Regions from separate parts of the Homo sapiens genome. Here region 1 is linked to region 2. The links are contacts of gene promoters, found by promoter capture Hi-C in human tissues and cell types (Jung and others, 2019). All regions are on one chromosome and are shown on one strand. The core of a region is centred on a gene start or on the middle of the fragment in contact, and the rest is flanking DNA. Distances in the headings are between cores, read along the strand shown. Region 1 holds the start of CYP20A1 (cytochrome P450 family 20 subfamily A member 1). Region 2 holds the start of FZD7 (frizzled class receptor 7).

Region 1 (5,140 bases), core at 1,430-3,929, 1.2 Mb before region 2:
AGACTCTGTCTCTTAAATGAAACAAAACAAAAAATAAAGATTACCAATGTTATCAAATTATTAGGCCTTAACTTAAAATATCTGCAGCATTTGACTTAGCTGATTATCCTCTTCTGCTTAAAACATCTGGCTTCCTTCTATTTGTGTGGCTGCTCCTTCTCAGTCTCCTTTGCTGGCTCTTCTTTCTCTCCTCAACCATTAACATTGGAGAATCCAGGGAATGGTCCCTGGGACCTCTTCTCTCCTGTATCTAAATTGTCTGGGAGATAGCAACCAGTTCTCCTCGCTTTAAATACCATCTATACATTGATAGCTCCCAAATGTGTATCTTCAGCCTGGACTTTTCCCATAAACTCAAGACATATATTCAGTTACTCCTCAACATCTCCACTTGAATGTCTAACAGGCATCTCAAACCTAGCCCACCCAAAACCAACTCCTAATCTCTATAAATCCCCACTACCTCCCACCAAAACAAAACTAAAGAACAACCACCACCAGCAAAACCCCTGATCTTCCCTGGAATTAATCTATCCTTCCAGATACCAGGCTAAAAATAACTGGTGTTTTCCTTGATGCCTCTCTTTCACATTTCACATCCAATCCACTGGGAAATCCCATTGGCACTATCTTCACAATTGACTAGTTCTCATTATCTGTGCCACTACTACCATGATCCAAGCTGAAATGATAATATCCTCCTAATTACTTGGCTTGCTTCCATCCTTACCTGGAGACCCATGTCAATTCATGACTTAGCAACCACAATGATTCTTTTAAAATTTATCTAATAAAATTAAATTTGAATTCTATCCAATTTCAAATGGCATTCATCTGCTGAAATCCTCCAGTGGCACACAGCAAAAGTCCATTAAAAAAGCCTTACAAGTCATTTAAAATTTGTCCTTCACTCCCATCTTTCTGACTTTCTCTCCTCTGGTATCTTCCTCATTTACTACACTCTAACCACACTGGTCCCCTTGCTTTCCAGGAACACACCAGGCGTGTCTCCCTCTGAAGGTTTGCATTTGCTGCTCCCTCGACCCAGAATGCTCTTTCTCAGAATGGCTTGCACCTTCACCTTCTTCGCGTTTCTACTCAAATGTCTCCGTATCTCCTGGCCATCCTACTTTAAAATAACAATCTACCTATCCCCAACTTTATTTCTACCCACAATCCTATGTTATTTGTTTCTATTGTCTGTTCCCCTTCTCTAGGAAATAAATTCCAAGAGTCAGGAATTTTCTGTCCGGTTTGTTTCACGGCTGGATTCCCAGCACGTGGAACCATATCTGGCACATAGCTAGTGCTAAGAATAAACAGTGTGCTTCTATGAGCTGATCAAAGAAGAGTATCATTTTAAAATCACCAAAAATTCAAGAACCACTAAAATTGTTTAGTTTCTCAGAAAATAAGATTTCAGGAAGTCCCTGATTGTGTAGTTGCAAGATTCTAGTCTAATCCATTTACCTGCTCGGAAAAGAACATTTAAGAAGGTGTATGGTCAATTCCAGCAGTTCAGCTACTTTTCAACTTTCACTGTAAAACCACCACCTTGCTTTGTAGAACAGGTGTTTTTTGTTTGTTTGTTTGTTTGTTTTGAGATAAGAGTCTGGCTCTGTCGCCAGGCTGCAGTGCAGTGGTGCGATCTTGGCTCACTGCAAGCTCCGCCTCCCAGGTTCAAGCGATTCTCCTGCCTCAGCCTCCTGAGTAGCTGGGATTACAGGCGCCCGCCACCACAGCCAGCTAATGTTTGTATTTTTAGTAGAGACGGTGTGTCACCATGTTGGCCAGGATGGTCTCGATATCCTGACCTCGTGATCCGCCCGCCTCAGCCTCCCAAAGTGTGTAGAACAGGTTTTAAAGACGGTCCTCAGTCATCAACACTTTTGTTTTCAGACCCTCCCTCTCTCGCTGACGGAGGCAAGTGGAGAGAGGAGGACCGGAGGCTCGCAGAGGCGTCAGCGGCAGAGGAAACCTCGCACCCGAACCCGCAGCGCGGCGCTCTCCCCAAAGAAGCATTTGCCTGGAGCCCCTAAGAGGAGCAAGACCTGGACCTCGAGCACTTTGGATTCCAGTCAGGATAGATCGATGGACAGATGGAAAAGAGGAATACACAAGTGCTGGGAGAATCCTCAAGAAAGGAGAAAGGAGTGGCGCGCCCAGGAGTCTCGTCCTGACACACTGGGAAATGAAATTTGGGTTTGGCGAGTTATGGCCAAAAAGCTGCCCAAAGTACTTGAGAGCCGCCTTGGAGAGTGGCGCGGGGTGCCTGGCAAGGTGAGACCGGCCTGCGGGGGCGCGGGCTTTTCCTCAGCAGCTCTACGCCCGCCTGGCCCGGCGCCTGAGGGGTAGCGACGCAGCCCACGTCGCTCTCAGAGCTTGCCGGGAGGGGCGTCACGTGACTCCGGGTGCGGTCCCCGCGCTGAAGCTCTGGAGCGAACCCGAACCCTCCTCTCAGGCCCGCCCCCTGCGGCCCGCAGCGGGCAGGTTGGCCTGGATGCCGGCGACAGAGAGACTGGGGCGGCGCCCGGGGCCCCAGAGAGCCAAGACGGCGCTCACCGGATAGAGGTAGAGCACGGCTCCCACCAACGCCAGCAAGAAGGTAACGGCGAAGATCGCGAAGTCCAACATGGTTCTGCCGCCCAGGGAGCCACGTCTCGGATCGGCCGCTCCAGCAGCAGCGCCTCAGCCTGGCCCAATTTAAGGCATAGCGTGTGGGCGGGGGCACCCCGCGGGACCCGGAAACCAACGGGCCGCTGGGGGCGTGACCGAGGCCTGCGGCCGGCGCCAGAGGAAAGAGCAATGGATCGCCGAGGAGCCGGGGCGCGGGTTCCTGAGCGCAGCAGGCCGAGGCTGAGGCCGCCTAGCGCCAGCCTCCACCGCAAGGCGGGGATTTCGGTGCACACGATTTCAGACAGAATATGCCCGCGACTTCGGACCGGGTTGCTGGCGAAAGCAGAGCCCAGCTTTCTGAGAAAAGTTAGGAGTTAGTAGTGCTCTGTCCGCCCAACAGTTTTCGCAATGGATTCAGAATTAAAACCTCTAAACCGATGATTTTCGAAGAGTGGTCCCGGTACCAGCTGCATCAACGTCGCCCGGGAGCTCGTTAGAGATTCAGATTATCGATGCCGGGCGCGGTGGCTCCACCTGTAATCCCAGCACCTTGGGAGGCTGAAGCGGGAGGATCGCTTGAGCCCAGGAGTTTGAGACCAGCGTGGGCAACATAGTGAGACCCCAGTCTCTACAAAAAAAAAAAAAAAAAAAAAAAAAAAATTAGCCTACAGTGGTGGCGCTTGCCTGTGGCCCCAGCTGCTCCGGAGGCTGAGGCTGGAGGATCACTTTAGCCGGGGAGGCAGAGGCTACAGTGAGCCGAGATGGCACGACTGCACTCCAGCCTGGGCGACAGGGCGAGACCCTGTCTCAAAAACAAAACAAAACAAAACAAAAGGAAAACAAAATAAAAAGATTCTCGATCCCAAACTAGACCTACTGAATCAAACACTCGGGGTGGGCAGGGGTAGGGGGCGCGTACAACAATCTGTTTGAACAGAGCCCTCCCGGGGACACTGTTACACACTTAAATTTGAGTGAAAACCACCACTGATCTAAGCGGGACAGGGAAGTGTCTGGGAGTAAAACAAGAGTAGATACGCCTTGTTTCGCAGAATTTCTGTCTGAAGTACTAGTAAATGTGATTCTTTGACACTTTCTGGTGAGCGGAGGCTGCACACTGTTCAGGTTTCCTTGCTCTGTTAACTCTGACTTTCGGTAAATTGCTTCAGTTTTCTAAGCTTCCATTTCCTTCTATGTAAAAAAGTGAAAATAATACCACATGGAGTTGCCTGTAGGTTAAATTACATATTTTATGAAAATCACTTAGCACAGCTCCTGGCAAAACCGAATAAGTGCTATCTACGTCAGCATTTGGCGTTTGTTGCCCTGGGCATAAAATACCCTAGGACCCCTCTTTCTATTTCGCCTGGCTCAGAAGTTTTGACGTGGCTACTGAAATACAAGACAAGGCCTGCTACTTACTAGTGCTGCTTTTAGTGAAAGTGTGCTAAAAGTATTTATAGATTTTATAGCTTTAATAATATAAAATGTCAAGAACAGGCAGCAATTTGGCAAGAGAAATTCCAGATTGCATTTTACAGCTTCTATGATAAATGACTGTTACATAAGCAGGAAACATACCTCATTGAAAATGGCAACTCTTTTGGCATCTATAGCAAATATAATGAAACATGCTGTTTAATATTTCACTTGGCAGAAATTGTATTTTTAAGTCTTTCTCTGCATATAAATGTGCTTTAAACTGTCGTATGTTCAAAGTTCATTTTTAAGTCTCTTGTTCAGAATTTTAAAGATATTTCTTGTCAAACTGATGTTCCCAATAGGTTTTCAAAACAGTAAATGTAAGAGTTTTTTGTTTGTTTGTTTTGTTTGTTTGTTTTTGAGACGTAGTCTCCCTCTGTAGCCCAGGCTAGAGTGCAGTGACGGGATCTCGGCTCACTGCAACCTCCGCCTCCCAGGTTCAAGCAATTCTCCTGCCTCACCCTCCCGAGTAGCTGGGATTACAGGCACGCGCCACCATGCCCAGCTAATTTTTGTATTTTTAGTAGAGATGGGTTTCACCATGTTGGCCAGGCTGGTCTTTAACTCCTGACCTCGTGATTCGCCCCTCTGGGCCTCCCAAAGTGCTGAGATTACAAGCGTGAACCACCCCGCCCGGCCAAACATAAGAGTTTTAACTGCATAAGGTAGCCATATAACCGTAATCTTAGGTACCGTAATCTTAGGTACCAATCCTTCAAGATATCTAGAATTCTCTTTTAGTCCTAAATTGACCTACATCCTGAGACTCTCTGAACTTTGAGGGCTGTAAAAAAGAGACAAAAATTCCAGAAATTGTCAGGGCACCATATTTTATAGTGTGAGTCTCTAAACTAGACATCTACCTCCTCTTCCTGTGTTCCTAAAACGTTTTGCCCAGATACTCCCTAAAAGCATATATAAATAATATATATATAATATATATATACACATACACACATATATATCTTTTCACACATTTTTTGTATTGACATCTAAAATTTTTATCTTGACTTTAAAGGATTAAATTTCTGTCATATTATAA
Region 2 (5,323 bases), core at 1,328-3,827:
TACCGTGCCTCTCCTCTTGCAAGAGGGCTGGGGTGGGAAAGGTGGGGAGGGGCCGGGGCTCATACCGCAGTCTCCCCCTTGCTGCTGTGGCTAAGTCTGTGGTAGAAGCGGCGCCACGACTGCAGGGTCTTGCCCGACCAGATCCAGAAGCCAGTGGTGATGCCGACGATCATGGTCATCAGGTACTTGATCATGAAGACGGTGAAGTCGGGGCTCATGGGCGGGAAGTGGCCGGGCGGGCAGGGCACGGCATAGCTCTTGCACGTCTGCAGGAGCCAGGTGCGCTCCCAGTGCTCGCGGAAGGCCTGCTCGTAGAAGTAGCAGGCCAGGACGATGGTGGCGGGCACTGTGTAGAGCACGCTGAAGACGCCGATGCGCACCATGAGCTTCTCCAGCTTCTCGGTCTTGGTGCCGTCGTGTTTCATGATGGTGCGGATACGGAAGAGGGACACGAAGCCGGCCAGCAAGAAGGACGTGCCTATGAAGAGGTAGACGAACAGAGGCGCCAGCACGAAGCCCCGCAGCGCGTCCACACTGGAGAGGCCAACGTAGCACACCCCGCTCAGCAGGTCCCCGTCTACCTGGCCCATGGCCAGGATAGTGATGGTCTTGACGGCGGGCACGGCCCACGCGGCCAGGTGGAAGTACTGCGAGTTGGCCTCGATGGCCTCGTGGCCCCACTTCATGCCGGCCGCCAGGAACCAAGTGAGAGACAGAATGACCCACCAGATGGAGCTGGCCATGCCGAAGAAGTAGAGCACCATGAAGAGGATGGTGCAGCCCTCCTTCTTGGTGCCCTGCGCCACCGTGCGGTAGCCATCGTCCGAGAAGCGCTCCACGCACACGGCGCGGTCCTCTAGAAGGAAGCCGGCCACGTGCGCCACGGCCACCATGAAGTAGCAGCCCGACAGGAAGATGATGGGCCGCTCTGGGTAGCTGAAGCGCCGCATGTCCACCAGGTAGGTGAGAACGGTAAAGAGCGTCGAGGCGCAGCACAGCACGGACCACACGCCCACCCAGAGGCGGGCGAAGCGCCTCTCCTCCTCCTTAAAGTACATCAGGCCGTTGGCACGGCCCGGTTCGCACGGGGCGCCACAATCGCGCTCACCCAGGAAGCGGTAGCCCAGGTACGGGGGCACCTTGAGCTGACGGGGGCATGAGAAGGGGAAGGCGGGACGCCCCCTGCCATCTGAGGCCCCCGGGGGCAGCGCGGTGAAGGGCAGGTCCGGCAGGTAGGGCGCGGTAGGGTAGGCAGTGGGGCCGCCGCCTGGGCCCCCGGAGCCGTCCGACGTGTTCTGGCCCACGCAGATCTCGCCCGCACCGTGCACCGGGAAGTTCTCGCAGCGCAGCCGCTCGGGCCACTGGAAGCCGAACTTGTTCATGAGCGCCTCGCAGCCCTGGCGGGCGCGCTCGCACAGAGAACGACACGGCGGGATGGCCTGATCGAGCACGGTGCACACGGGCGCATACATGGAGCATAAGAAAAAGCGGAGTTCGGGAGAACACTGCACCTTCACCAGCGGGTAGAACTGGTGCACCTCGAGGCCCGCGTCCTCTTGGTTCGTGTGGCCCAGCAGGTTGGGCAGGATGGTCTGGTTGTAGGCGATGTCCGTGCACAGCGGGATGGAGATGGGCTGGCAGAAGCCGTGGTCCGGCACGGAGATGCCCTTCTCTCCGTGGTACGGCTGCGCCCCGGCGCCCGCGGACAGTGCGCCCAGCAGCGCCAGCACCAGGGCACAGAGGCCCAGGGACGAAAGCGGAGCGGCCGCGCCGGGGTCCCGCATCGCCGGCCGCGAGTGCAGCGGTGCTCTCAGCCTGAGGAGTGCGACGAGGCGGTTGGGAGAGGCTTGGATGCGGGGAGGCGCCGCCGCGCCCGACGCATGAGAGTCCTCACGGCGCCGGGGCCGGGCCGTGGGCGGCGTGGAGCAAAGGGCGCTGCCGCCTGGGTGCCCGCGCCGCGAAGGCGCCGCAGACGCCGCCGCCCTGCACTCGCAGGGCCGCCGGGGGCCCAAAACTCGTCAGCCTGGGTTGGGGGCGCCGAGGAGGGCCGCCTCGCTCTCCCCGCGGGGACGTAACGGTGCGGCTCCCTCCGCCGCGAGGAGCAACAAGCGGCTCCGGCACCCTTCAAAGTTTGCCCAAGACTCTGGACCCCCGGCGCACCGCAGCGCGCACGCCCCCCGCGCCTGGTCCGGTCCCCGCTAGGAGAACCCCTGCCGCCGCCGCTCGCTCGCCCCGGCCGCCGCCTCCGCGGTGCTGCCCCGCCTCCTGGCCTCGAGGCTCCGCTCGTCGCCGCCTCCTTCGCCTCCTCCTCCACACCCCGCTCCTTCTTCAGCCCCAAAAGCTCGGCCCCAAGTTTCAGCCAAACGGCCGGCTCTTGCTGAGTCCGATCTCGGCCCCGGAGTCGGGAGCACGGCGAGTTCTTTTTGGAAACCCAGTCACACTGCGTCCGAAACCGCGAGGCGCTCGTGCCCGCGGCCTGGCCCCGGCCCCTCCAGCCCCTCGCAGCCCCAGCAGCGAGTCCTGGCGCCCGCCGCCGCCGCCGCCGCCGCCGCCCGCCGGGAGTGAGCGCCGACTAACGCCTCGGAGTCGCGCTGGTCGCCAGAAGAAGCGTCGGGCTCGCGGGGTTCCGGGCCGGCCCGCCCCCTCCCGTCCCCTCCCGTCCCCTCCCCTCCCCTCCCCTCCCCCCCCATTCACAAACCACTCCGGGGGCGGCCCCAGGCCCCGGCGGCCCAATGGCGGCCTTTGTTTTTTCGGTGGCCGCCTTCGGATTGGGCGGAAGTCGGAAGGGGCGGGCGCGGGAGTGGCGGAGGCGGTGTCCGCGGCGCTCTGGGCGGATTCCTGAGGGGAGGGGCGGGGGACTGGGAGGGAAAAGTTCGGAAAAACTTTTACCCTGAATTCGCTCAGGGACGAAAACGCGCAGAAAGGGAATTTGCTTCAAAGATTTGTTCCTCTTCCTGGTGCACTCAGATGCGCATTCCTGAGCAGGGGCGCCTTCGCCAGCGGCGTTTGAGGGGAGCGAGGACCGCGCAGCGCCCCTTCGGGGAGAGACGTGACCAGGAGTCGCGTTAGGACTGCAAAGGCTGGCTCTGGCGGGGCTTTCGGGTCGCCGGGTCCTCAATGTGGGGTTTGGGACGGGACGAGAAGGGGGTGCGCCTTGCGGATCGCCTCTTTCCCCCCGGACCCAAAGAGTCCACGCGAGGCCACAGTCCCCTCTCCCCTCCCCCGAGTTATAAAAAGGAGGAGGGGCCGCCTCCGAGGAGAAACCCGAGTCGGGCGGAGGGGGCCGAGTGACGGCGGGAGGAAGGACCCCTCGGAGGAAGGGCCCGAAGCAGGGAGAGCGGGGAACCCGGGCTCAGGCCACCCCGCCCGCGCGCACGGCCTGGAGTCTGGGGAACTGGGGTGACTCTAGCGAGGTTTTAAGGAAACGAAGACGGCGTTGGGGAGACTGGTTCTAGAAGTAACCTGAGACCGAGCGCCCAGGAACACTCTGTACGACGCGCCGGGCGTCTCAGTGGCCCCGTGTGCCTTGGTTCTGCGGCGTGTGCCCTTTCGGGATCCCATCTTCGTTGCAGAAGCAACCATTTGATCCTCCATTTAGAATCTGCGTAGGAATGTTTTAATGCGTCTTAGAAACCAGGCTAATTAAAGAGTTTTCAAAACACAAAGCGGGGTTATCCTCGTTCTCGGGTAGCGTTTTCTGATTGGCAAACGTTCTTTTGTTCTCGGTTAAATCTTCGTCTTGAGCCAGGCGCTGGGCGCTCGCGCGCGCTCTCTGGTTACTCCTGCGGGGGTCATAAGTCACCAGGGGGCCTCTCCCCTCTCTCCGGGCTGCCAGGAATATCAGGAATTCCCATGCAGGAAAGTGACATGTTGAGAAGGAAAAGAAAAAAATCAATCAATCAATCTCTCCTCCTCCTCCTCTTTCCTCTGTCTCTCTCTCTCTCTCTCTCACACACACACACACACACACACACACACAGCAATCCTGTGCTTTAAAAAACGTTATTCCTGGCGGAGCCCTTCTGCCTCAGTCCCGGGTGCTGGAGCTCTGAGCGATTTCTGATCAGGTTGAACCTTGGCAGAAGTTGCTGTCTCTGCTGCCTCCCGTGCGCTTCTTCTACAGCAGGAAAAAAACTCATTCTGAAATCGAAGACAATTAATTGGGTTCCCTTCCATGGGAGACTTTGGCTTTCTCTGTTTTTCTTTATTTATTTTCGATCACTGAAGATTGCTGGGAATCGTTCTTTCCGATTCACGGTTCTTTGTCCTTCCCCACTCCTGTTAATAGGTCGAAAGGGCGGAAGGAAGCCTTTGGGCCAAGGCAGAGTGTTAGACTGATCACATCCTCCATCCGGCCCTCAGCGGGAGTCGCCTTCTTCCTCCCAAGCATCAGTTTCGCCCTCCCTCCCGGACCCCCCCACCCTTTTTTTCCTTTTCTTTGGGACATGTGCTGAAGGTAATACGATACCTGCTTTAAAAATGTTTCATTCCTTCTTTGTGTTTTTAAAAGGGCCCCCCTTTTCTTTCTAAATTATTATTTCTATTACCTAACATCGGGGAGTGTTGATCTTCGGTTGAAATATGTTGCTTAAAGACAATGCTGCTGCTTTGCTTTGTCATTTAAAGTATGTGTGGTGGGGGGTTAGATTCCTTTTTTCTCTCCATGAGCTTCAGGATATCCTCCTTTTCTAAATCAAAATTTCATGCTTATTCATCAGGCCACTGATCTAAGTCATCTTTGCTTATTGAGGAAGAAATACCAAGCACTGTCATCAAATAAAATGAAAACTGACAGGATAAAATACTGTCTCAACTGCAACTAAAACCAATTTAGCTGATGAGCTTCTACTCTCCATATTATAACCCCAGACAGCTCCGATGTTAGGCAATAGGGATAATAATTTAGAAAAAAAAAACCCTTAAATACAAGGGACGAATGAAAAGCAGTCTATGCCTAAGATGCAGAAAACCCATCCCAGATGGAAAGTGTTACAGATGTGAGTCCTCTTGCTCTGTCCCAGGCAGACAAGTCCAAAAAGCAGAGAAGCAAAGCCAATTTTTAAAACAGATTGTTTTGTTTTTAAAGATTTTTAAAAAATCAATCCAAAATTATTCTCCAAAATAAGAATTTGCTGTGAGAGGGGGAGCTCTGGCTTTCCAAGCCTTGCCTGGTATAGAATGCTATGATTTTAAGGAGCCAAGTCATAGAAGATCAGAAAAAGTAAGTTCACAATGTAAGGGTCTAATCATGTTTTAGGTTCTATGACAAATGTAGTGACATCTGTTTATATTCTGTCCAGGATCATTTTAATTTTGCTTCCTA

The links. Contacts are between HindIII fragments. The study calls those that stand out against the background at their distance.
Region 1: a contact is called between the fragment with the promoter of CYP20A1 here and the fragment with the promoter of FZD7 in region 2, in 1 of the 25 tissues and cell types used here (stomach).

What each region holds. Positions count from the first base shown.
Region 1 is chr2:203,236,557-203,241,696 of GRCh38, reverse strand. It overlaps CYP20A1 (cytochrome P450 family 20 subfamily A member 1), which reads right to left and starts at 2,679. Exons shown (of 13, transcript NM_177538.3): 1 at 2,563-2,679. The coding sequence starts at 2,634. RefSeq lists enhancers at 1,959-2,248, 2,072-2,643, 2,929-2,978 and a silencer at 2,649-2,858. The HindIII fragment of the contact is 20,829 bases long and covers 1-5,140 here.
Region 2 is chr2:202,031,109-202,036,431 of GRCh38, reverse strand. It overlaps FZD7 (frizzled class receptor 7), which reads right to left and starts at 2,577. Exons shown (of 1, transcript NM_003507.2): 1 at 1-2,577. The coding sequence starts at 1,784. The coding sequence ends at 60. RefSeq lists enhancers at 1,536-1,655, 853-1,693 and silencers at 2,256-2,335, 2,446-2,995. The HindIII fragment of the contact is 12,054 bases long and covers 1-5,323 here.